3 separate regions of the Homo sapiens genome follow, and regions 1 and 2 are each linked to region 3. The links are contacts of gene promoters, found by promoter capture Hi-C in human tissues and cell types (Jung and others, 2019). All regions are on one chromosome and are shown on one strand. The core of a region is centred on a gene start or on the middle of the fragment in contact, and the rest is flanking DNA. Distances in the headings are between cores, read along the strand shown. Region 1 has its middle 180 kb from the start of ZNF618. Region 2 has its middle 150 kb from the start of ZNF618. Region 3 holds the start of ZNF618 (zinc finger protein 618).

Region 1 (2,700 bases), core at 172-2,671, 180 kb after region 3:
TAAGCAAATTAAAAAGCAGAATAAAAAGCAATACAGCTTGTGAGAAGGGCCATGCCTCCAGACCAACAGGGTGATGTGACAGACACCCGGCAGAAAGTGACTTGGTTAGGGGCTGTCACCTGATGAAAGCTCCTGAGCCCTAAGGCACAGTGGGCACCAGACTAGGCCCTTATGCTCCATTAGATAGAGTCGGTCCAAAATGACAAAGGGAGAAGTGACCCACGCAACCAGGCATGGCATGTAGGCAGGCATCAGCATCAGCCACTCTGCACGCACACTGAGGTCTTGTCTTCATAAACTCAGCTGTTACCTCTACCATGTTCCAACTGCAGTCCTTTCTTTTTTTTTTTTTTTTTTTTTTTTTTGAGACAGAGTCTTGCTCTGTTGCCTGGGTTGGAGTGCAGTGGTGGGATCTCGGCTTACTTCAACCTCCGCCTCCCAGGTTCAAGCGATTCTCCTGCCTCAGCCTCCTGAGTAGCTGGGACTACAGGTGTGTGCTACCACGCCTGGCTAATTTTTTGTATTTTTAGTAGAGACGGGATTTCACCATGTTGGCCAGGCTGTTCTCAAGCTCCTGACCTCAGGTGATCCGCCCGCCTCGGCCTCCCAAAGTGCTGGGATTAGAGGCATGAGCCACCATGTCCAACTCAACTCCATTACTTTCTACCTGTCAGGCCTAAAACAAAGTGCTTAGTCCTTCTATGCCTCAGTTTCCTCGGTTTCCTCATCTGTACCATGATGGTAATCATAGGACTCTCTGAGGAGGGTCCCTCTAATCTGTGAGACTTGGGTGAGTTAGTACAGGTGAAATGCTTAGAATGGTATGTGGTGCTGAGTCTTCGCTAGTATTATTCCCCACATCCTCAGATGGGGTTCCCACTGAAGTTGGGCTTTGAGGGTTTGTTATGTGGAGTTGGCTAAGAGAAAATGTTCCAGGACAGACCTGTCTTGGTTTGGGTTCCCCTAGAAGCACCCCCTGAGGTAAGGATTTGCAGGCAAGTCATTTATTTGGGAGGCGAAGAGACACCTTAAGAAGTGGGGAAGTGAGAGAGAAGAGTGTGTTCCCAAGCCCACTAGTGCTGTTGGTGCCTTCATCTCTTTATTAGTCTGTTCTCACACTGCTATAAAGAACTACCTGAGACTGGGTAATTATAAAGGAAAGGGATTTAATTGACTCACAGTTCTGCAGGCTTAGCAGGAAGCATGGCTAGGAGGCCTCAGGAAACTTACAATCGTGGTGGAAGGTGAAGGGGAGAGCAGGCACCTTATTAGCAAGGCTGCAGGAGGGAGTGTGTGTGAGAATGAGGATGTGCCATACCCTAAAACCATCAGCTCTCATGAGAATTCACACACTTTCATGAGAACAGCATGGGGGAAACAGCCCCCATGATGGAATCACCTCCCACCTGGTCCCTCCCCTGACATGTGGGGGTTACAATCTGAGATGAGATTTGGGTAGGGACACAGAGCCAAACCATATCAATCTCCCTGGAGAACTCTGGAGCCAGTGTGGTGCACAGCCTCAGATTTGTCTCATGAAAGGGCGAAGGAACTGCGGTATTTACCATCAACCCTCCTCAGTTATTGATTGAGGACTATGGTGGTGGTAGGGAGACGTGCTCATTTTCTCAAGCCTGGTGGGCAACACGGGCCCTGGCAAGCTCAGAAAGCCCTCAGGCAAGCAGTGCAGGTTCCAGGAGGCAGGACACCACAGTGGTCCAGGTGAGGAGAATGGGCTCAACAGGGCTGGGAACGGCTCCAGAGTGAGCAGAGAACATCGAGGCAAGTAGGGCAGCAGGTCTTTAACCTCCAGGCGCTCAAGAGGATAAGTAGGAGATTGATGTTATGCTGATACCAGGTTAGAAGGGCCTGGAAAGTTAAGGGACTAGGACTTTATTCTGCAGGCAGTAGGCAGCTGCCAGAGGTGTCTGAGGAGGGGAAGGACACAGAAAAGAAACAATCACATCAGTAAGGTGTGGACCTACCTTAAGCCCCAACATCTAGCTCTGTTCCCGCTAACACCACTCTGCAGCCTGAGCCTGATTAAAAGGCAGGCCAGCCAGGAGGTTTCCTAAAGACACAAACTCTAAGGGAACTGTTCTCTCACTGCTATAAAGAATTACCTGAGACTGGGTAATTTATCAAGAAAAGAGGTTTAAAGGCTGGGCGCAGTGGCTCACACCTATAATCCCAGCATTTTGGGAGACAGAGGTGGGCAGATCACTTGAGGCCAGGAGTTTGAGGCCAGCCTGGCCAACATTCATGTAGAAACCCCAGCTCTACAAAAAATACAAAACTTAGCTGGGCATGGTAACACATGCCTGTAATCCCAGCTACTCGAGAGGCTGAGGCATGAGAATCGTTTGAACCCAGGAGGCAGAGGCTGCAGTGAATTGAGATCATGCCACTGCACTCAAGCATGGGCAACAGAGCTAGGCTCTGTCTCAGAAAAAAAAAAAAGAGAAATAAACAAAACAGATTTAATTGACTCACAGTTCCACATGCTATACAGGAACATGGCTGGGGAAGCCTCAGGAAACTTACAATCATGGCAGAAGGTGAAAGGGAAGCAGGCACGTCTTACATGGCCAGAGAAGGAGAAATAGAGAGAAGGGGGAGGTGCTATAGACTTTTCTTTTTTCTTTTTTTTCTTTTTGATGGAGTCTCACTCTGTCACCCAGACTGGAGTGCAGTGGCATG
Region 2 (2,700 bases), core at 2-2,501, 150 kb after region 3:
TATGAAACTGCAAGCTTAGGGAGACGGGGAGGACAGATCCTTACCACCAGGACATCAATCAAGCTGCTGACTCGATGAAAGTATCTGCAGTAACCCCAGTGTGATCACTGGGCTAGAGCTCCAGCCTGCTAATGTAAAACATGGCTCTGAACTAAGGGTCCCGAGGGGCAGGGTGGAGATGGCCACATAACTGCTAGACAGGGAGGAATGCAGGGAGAAAGAGCTCTCCCATTCAAAATGAACTTGTACACCAAAATTTAAAAACACCTGAAAAGCTGATACCAGTGAAAATGGAAGCGTTAATGCTTCGAATATGTCATGTGAATACTGGCAAAAAATTTTTAGAATCAACTTTTTTAGAAGTCTGGAAGTTAATCAAATTCTTGTAGCAATCTAGGGAGCAATTATTAAAGAAAAACAGCTAAATCTTAGCAAAGACAGCAAGTGTTGTGGCATTTTAATTTGCCCTGTTTCCATCTCATGCTCTCCAGCTCCACAGTAGCCTTGAAAATTAACAGCCTAAAATCATAGTAAAAATCAGCAGCCTGCCAGCCACCATGGGGGCTTAACAGGGTTGCTGTTCCTTCAAAGCTTCATTTCCAGAAAATTGTCATCATTCGATGTGTCTAACAGTTGTCTGGAAGCCCTCACTTTAAAGAGCTGTCTTTATTTGACCTGACTCAAAGCTCACACAGTACAAAAAGCCTTTTCCCTGGGGGGTGTTTGTTATAAACAATTAGAGGCAATTGATTACATTTGTAGCTTCCCAAGGCAGTTAGATAATTGGGGTAAACAATAGGCTAAACAAAAAGCTTAAAAGGAAAAGCTGAGGCATGAGATGTCCACAGGGGCTTTAAGAAGTTTTGACATGTTCCTGGGACTCTAGAAGGCCACACACATGCATAGGGCTATACACATACCTAGGGCTATGCACATATGCAGGAAAAACCTGAGAAGGTCCTAAGCTCCCACCTTGGGCTGACCTTGAGATCTTGCACAAGTAAGAAGTGAAGAGTTAGAGTTGCTAACAGCCTGGCTGAGTTTGGAAAGCATGCACACACACATACAAACACACACACACACGGTCCTTTGGCAAAGAGAGGGAGATTTACTGATTGCAAGAGTTTAAGGAAATCTCTATCCAATCATTTGCTCACCACTAAGGTAAGAGACTTAGATGGCTAAACAGAACTAGGAATTCAGACTTTACTCAATTAGTTCAGAAAAGTCACTAAAGAAATTAACAAAAGCAACAAACAGTAACAACAAATCCTGGATAATCTTATTTCCAGAGTTGCCAAATTTAAAATTTCCAATTTTCCACAAAATATTAAGAGACATTTAAAGAAACAAAGTATTTCATTTTCAGGGGGACTTAAGAGAAAATAATTAATAATAATAAAGAAACAAGAAATTATGGCCCATATACAGGAAGAAAAGCCGTCAATAAAAACTGTTCCTGAGGAACAGCAGACACTGGTCTTACTAGACAAGGACTTTATTTTTATTTATTTATTTATTTATTCATTCATTCATTCTTCTTTTGTGTGTGAAACAGGGTCTCGCTCTGTTGTGCTGGCTGGAGTGTAATGGCAGAAACATGATTCACTGTAGCCTCTACCTCCCAGACCCAAACAATCCTTCTGCTTCAACCTCCTGAGTAGCTAGGACCACAAGTGCAAACCACCATGCCTGGCTAATTTTTTTTTTTTCTTGGTAGAGACAGGGTCTTGCCATGTTGCTCAGGCTGGTCTCGAACTCCTTAGGCTCAAGCAATCCTCCCGCCTCAGCCACCAATAGACAAAGACTTTAAATCATCTATTGAAATTATGTTCAATGAGCTAAGGAAACTATGTCCAAAGAACTAAAGGAGAGTATGAGAATGATGGCTCACCATATAGAGAATATCAGTAAAAATGTAGAAAATTATTAAAAGGAACCAATTAGATATTCTGGCATAGAAAAATATAATAACTGAAATAAAAACTTCATTTCCAGATATGGCTTAAGTGCAATATTTTAGCAGGCAGAAGAAACATATATCCACACAAAAATTTGTATACAATTTTCATAGCAGCATTCATGACATCCCAAAAGTATAAACAACCCAAATGCCCATCAATTGATTGATGAATAGTTAAATAACATGTGGTCCGTTCATACAATGGAATATTATTCAGCCCTAAAAAGGATGAAGTAACTGATTCATCCTGTAAGATGAAACATTATGTTAGGTGAACTATAAGATGAAACATTGTGCTAGGTGGAAAAACCCAGAGACAAAAGACCACATATCATATGATTCTGCTTACATGAAATGTTCAGAATAGGCAAATCTTGGAGATAAAAAGTAGATAAGTGGTTTCTAGGGATAAGGCGGAGGGGGACATAGGGAGTGACTACTAATGAATATGAGGTTTCTTTGGGAGGTGATCAAAGTGTTTTTAATTAGATAGTGGTAATAGTTGCACAGTCTTGTGAGTTTATTAAAAACCAGTTAATTATATACTTTAAAGAGGTGAATTTTATGGTATGTGATTTATATCTCAACAACAAAAAACACATATGAAATAAACTAATCCTAAGAAAGTTAACAAAATTAATAATTGGGTATATTAATTGCAATCAAAATTAATATAATGAGCCAGTCTGGAAAAGACTTTAAAATAAGAATGTTTAAGGCTCTCAATGAGATAATGA
Region 3 (2,700 bases), core at 57-2,556:
TTTCACTGTAACTTTTCTAGTTTCTGTTTTCTTTAGAATCTTAGGATTTAAATGCAGTAAAATGTAAATGCAAAATTAAAAAAAAAAAACTACAATTTTTGGGTGTGTCCAAAGCCAACATTTTAGGTTCTATTTTCTCTTTTAAATCCTTCGTTCGTGGAAATAGAAAAACTTTAAATATTGCCATATAGAGAAATTAGTCTTTTTTTGCCCGCTGAGCTAAACAAGTTCCAAATTACAATGAAGTACAATTTCTAATTGCTTCATAAAGCCAATTCTCTCAGTTTTCCCTAAACTCAACAATTTCCCTCCTTTCTTTATTCCAATTAGTTTTTTTCTCAAACTAAAATGAGTTGGGTACCCAAACTGACTTTGCTTTTAGGAGGTTTTTTGCTTTCTCCCCTCCAAGAACTAAATTCATTCAAATTCCAGCTTAATTTTCATTTACATATTATCTGGATTTGGCTTCAGAAATAAAAATTGTCTCCATGCTTCTGGAAAGATCAAAGTGAAAATTTTCACCCGAAAAAAGAAAAAAAAAGAATCTCTTACCCCTCCACTGCCTGGTAGTGCAAACTTTTGAAAAAATAAGAAATAAAAAATATTTCTTTTCAATTTTAATTTCTTTTTTATTTACAAAATAGTATCCTCTAGGTGGCGTCGTTTTAATGGGAAAAAACTACCGTTTGAAGAAAAATTAGAAAAAAAAAATTGAGAAAGGAAAATATGGCCTAAAAAAAAAGATTGTTGCAAAAATGGGGGACCTGGGGGGAAAGACCTCCCGGGGGGTCATCGGGGACCCCGAGCGCAGAGAGGGTCAGGGGAAAATTGCAAATTTGGGGGGGAGGGGGCAGAGCTGGAAGGGGTTGCATTTTTGCAAAATGTGAATTGTCCAAACTGAAATGGCTGCTCTGTTCTCTCGCCGCTTTGTTTTCTGGGCTCCGGTCCGAGCCCGGGGCCGGAGGGGGCGCTGGGTGGGGGCCCCAAAAGACCCCCTCGTCACCCCCACCCTCCTCGCACCCCGCAGCGCCCGGGGGGGTGCTCTCCGGACCCCGACCCTCCCGATTGCGCCCACAAAAAGCCCGCAAACGTGCCCAGGCACTTTGCATTTTGCAAATCTTGCAATGAAGTGGCGCAGCGCCCCGGGCCCCGGCCCCCCGGGGTCCCCCGCGCGGTGCATGCCCCCGGCCCCCCGTCGTACCTGCGGAGCCGCCGCGCCGCCCGGCTGGTTCATGGGTCCGTGCGGGAGGAGGCGGCCCCGGCGCGTCCTGCTCCTCCCGGGCCGGGCTGCTGGTGCGCGCACAATGCCGCCGCCGCCGCCGCCGCCGCCGCCGCCGCTCCCTCCTCCGCCCGCCCCGCTCAGGCCGGGGGGGCGGGGGCGCTGGGGGCGCGCGGGGGGGGCGCCGGCCCTCGCCCCCACCCCCGGCCCGCACCGGCCGCGCCGCGGCAGCCGCTGCCGCCGAGCCGCCCCTCGCGGGGCCGCCGCCGCCCCCCGCCGCCCTGCCCGCCCCCGGGCCGGCCTCGCCGTGCGGCCCGCGAGCTCGGGGCCTCGGCCTCGGCCTCCGCGCTGCCGGCCTCCGCGTGGCACACAAAGCCGGCCGGTCCAGGGGCGCGCCCGCCCTCCCGTCCGCCAGCCCCAGTGCCGCGGCACACCCGCCCCCCCAAACTTTCCCGCGCCGCGCCCTGCCCTCCCCGCGCCCCCCGCGCCCGCTCCCCGGCTCCCTTCTGCCCTCCCCCAGTCCCCCAGCCCCTCGGAAATGTCATTTTCACGCTGGAAAAAAAGTTCAGGGAGCCGGCTCTCGGCGGAACGCAAGAGGTTAATGGGAACTCTGTACCCCGCTGTACCCCCCCGCCAAAAAAAAACCAGATTGATTTTTGAAATAAAAGTTTTCAAGAGCTGGCTTGCTGGAAGACTGGAAGGCTTATTGGGAATATTCTATTGCCCTGCCACTCCTCCCAAAAAAACTAATGTAATAAAATAAAAGTTTGAAGGACTGGCCCCATGTCCGACAAGAGTGGTTAAGGGGACTCTAGCCCCCCAGCCAGACTGATTTTTAAAATAAATACTTGAGGAGCCGCTTTTATGTGAAATGCCAGTGAAGCGGCTGTTTCTGCCTATCCTTGCCAAATTAAAATATATATATGTATTTCTAAATAAAAGTTTGAAAAACTGGTCCTACAGTAAGACAAGAGGGGTTAAAGGTTAAGGGATATTAGCGCCCCCCACCCCCATATCCCCCAGTTAGGTTGATTTAGAGAAGGAAAATTTGAGAAACTTGCATGTGAAATAAAACGTGAACCAGGATATTTCTTTCCAACACCCCAAAATAGCCAGTTTTTTTGTTGTTGTTATTGTTGTTTTTTTTTTTTTAACTTGAGCAACTGCCTCCTTGTGACTTGGGAAAGTTTAAAAGGGATTTTTTTTTCTATTCTCTTCCCTATTCTCCTAAAAAATCCGATTTTTTAAAAATTGAAAGTATGAAGGACCTGCCCTATTATAGAGACAAGGAGGGATTACTGGATCCATCCTACATCTCCCACAACTGGTTGATTTTTGGAATAAAAATGTTAAGAATTGCTCTTCTATGAGATGCAAGGTGAACAGAAATCCTTCTTTGCCCCTCCCCAAAAGAAAACTGCAAGGGTACTTTTCAAAAATAAAAGCATTGGAAATTAAGAGTAACCAGGTATCTTCTCTCT

What was found. The method cuts DNA at HindIII sites, captures the fragments that hold promoters and counts their contacts. A contact is called where the count stands out against the background at its distance.
Region 1: a fragment that was not itself captured here is called in contact with the fragment with the promoter of ZNF618 in region 3 in 1 of the 25 tissues and cell types used here (lymphoblastoid cells).
Region 2: a contact is called between a fragment that was not itself captured here and the fragment with the promoter of ZNF618 in region 3, in 1 of the 25 tissues and cell types used here (aorta).

What each region holds. Positions count from the first base shown.
Region 1 is chr9:113,696,769-113,699,468 of GRCh38, reverse strand. No RefSeq gene overlaps it. Among named protein-coding and RNA genes, the nearest start is that of ZNF618, 180 kb to the left of the region's middle. The HindIII fragment of the contact is 4,478 bases long and covers 1-2,700 here.
Region 2 is chr9:113,729,677-113,732,376 of GRCh38, reverse strand. No RefSeq gene overlaps it. Among named protein-coding and RNA genes, the nearest start is that of ZNF618, 150 kb to the left of the region's middle. The HindIII fragment of the contact is 3,375 bases long and covers 1-2,700 here.
Region 3 is chr9:113,874,915-113,877,614 of GRCh38, reverse strand. ZNF618 (zinc finger protein 618) reads right to left here and starts at 1,306. Exons shown (of 15, transcript NM_001318042.2): 1 at 1,202-1,306. The coding sequence starts at 1,234. The HindIII fragment of the contact is 30,531 bases long and covers 1-2,700 here.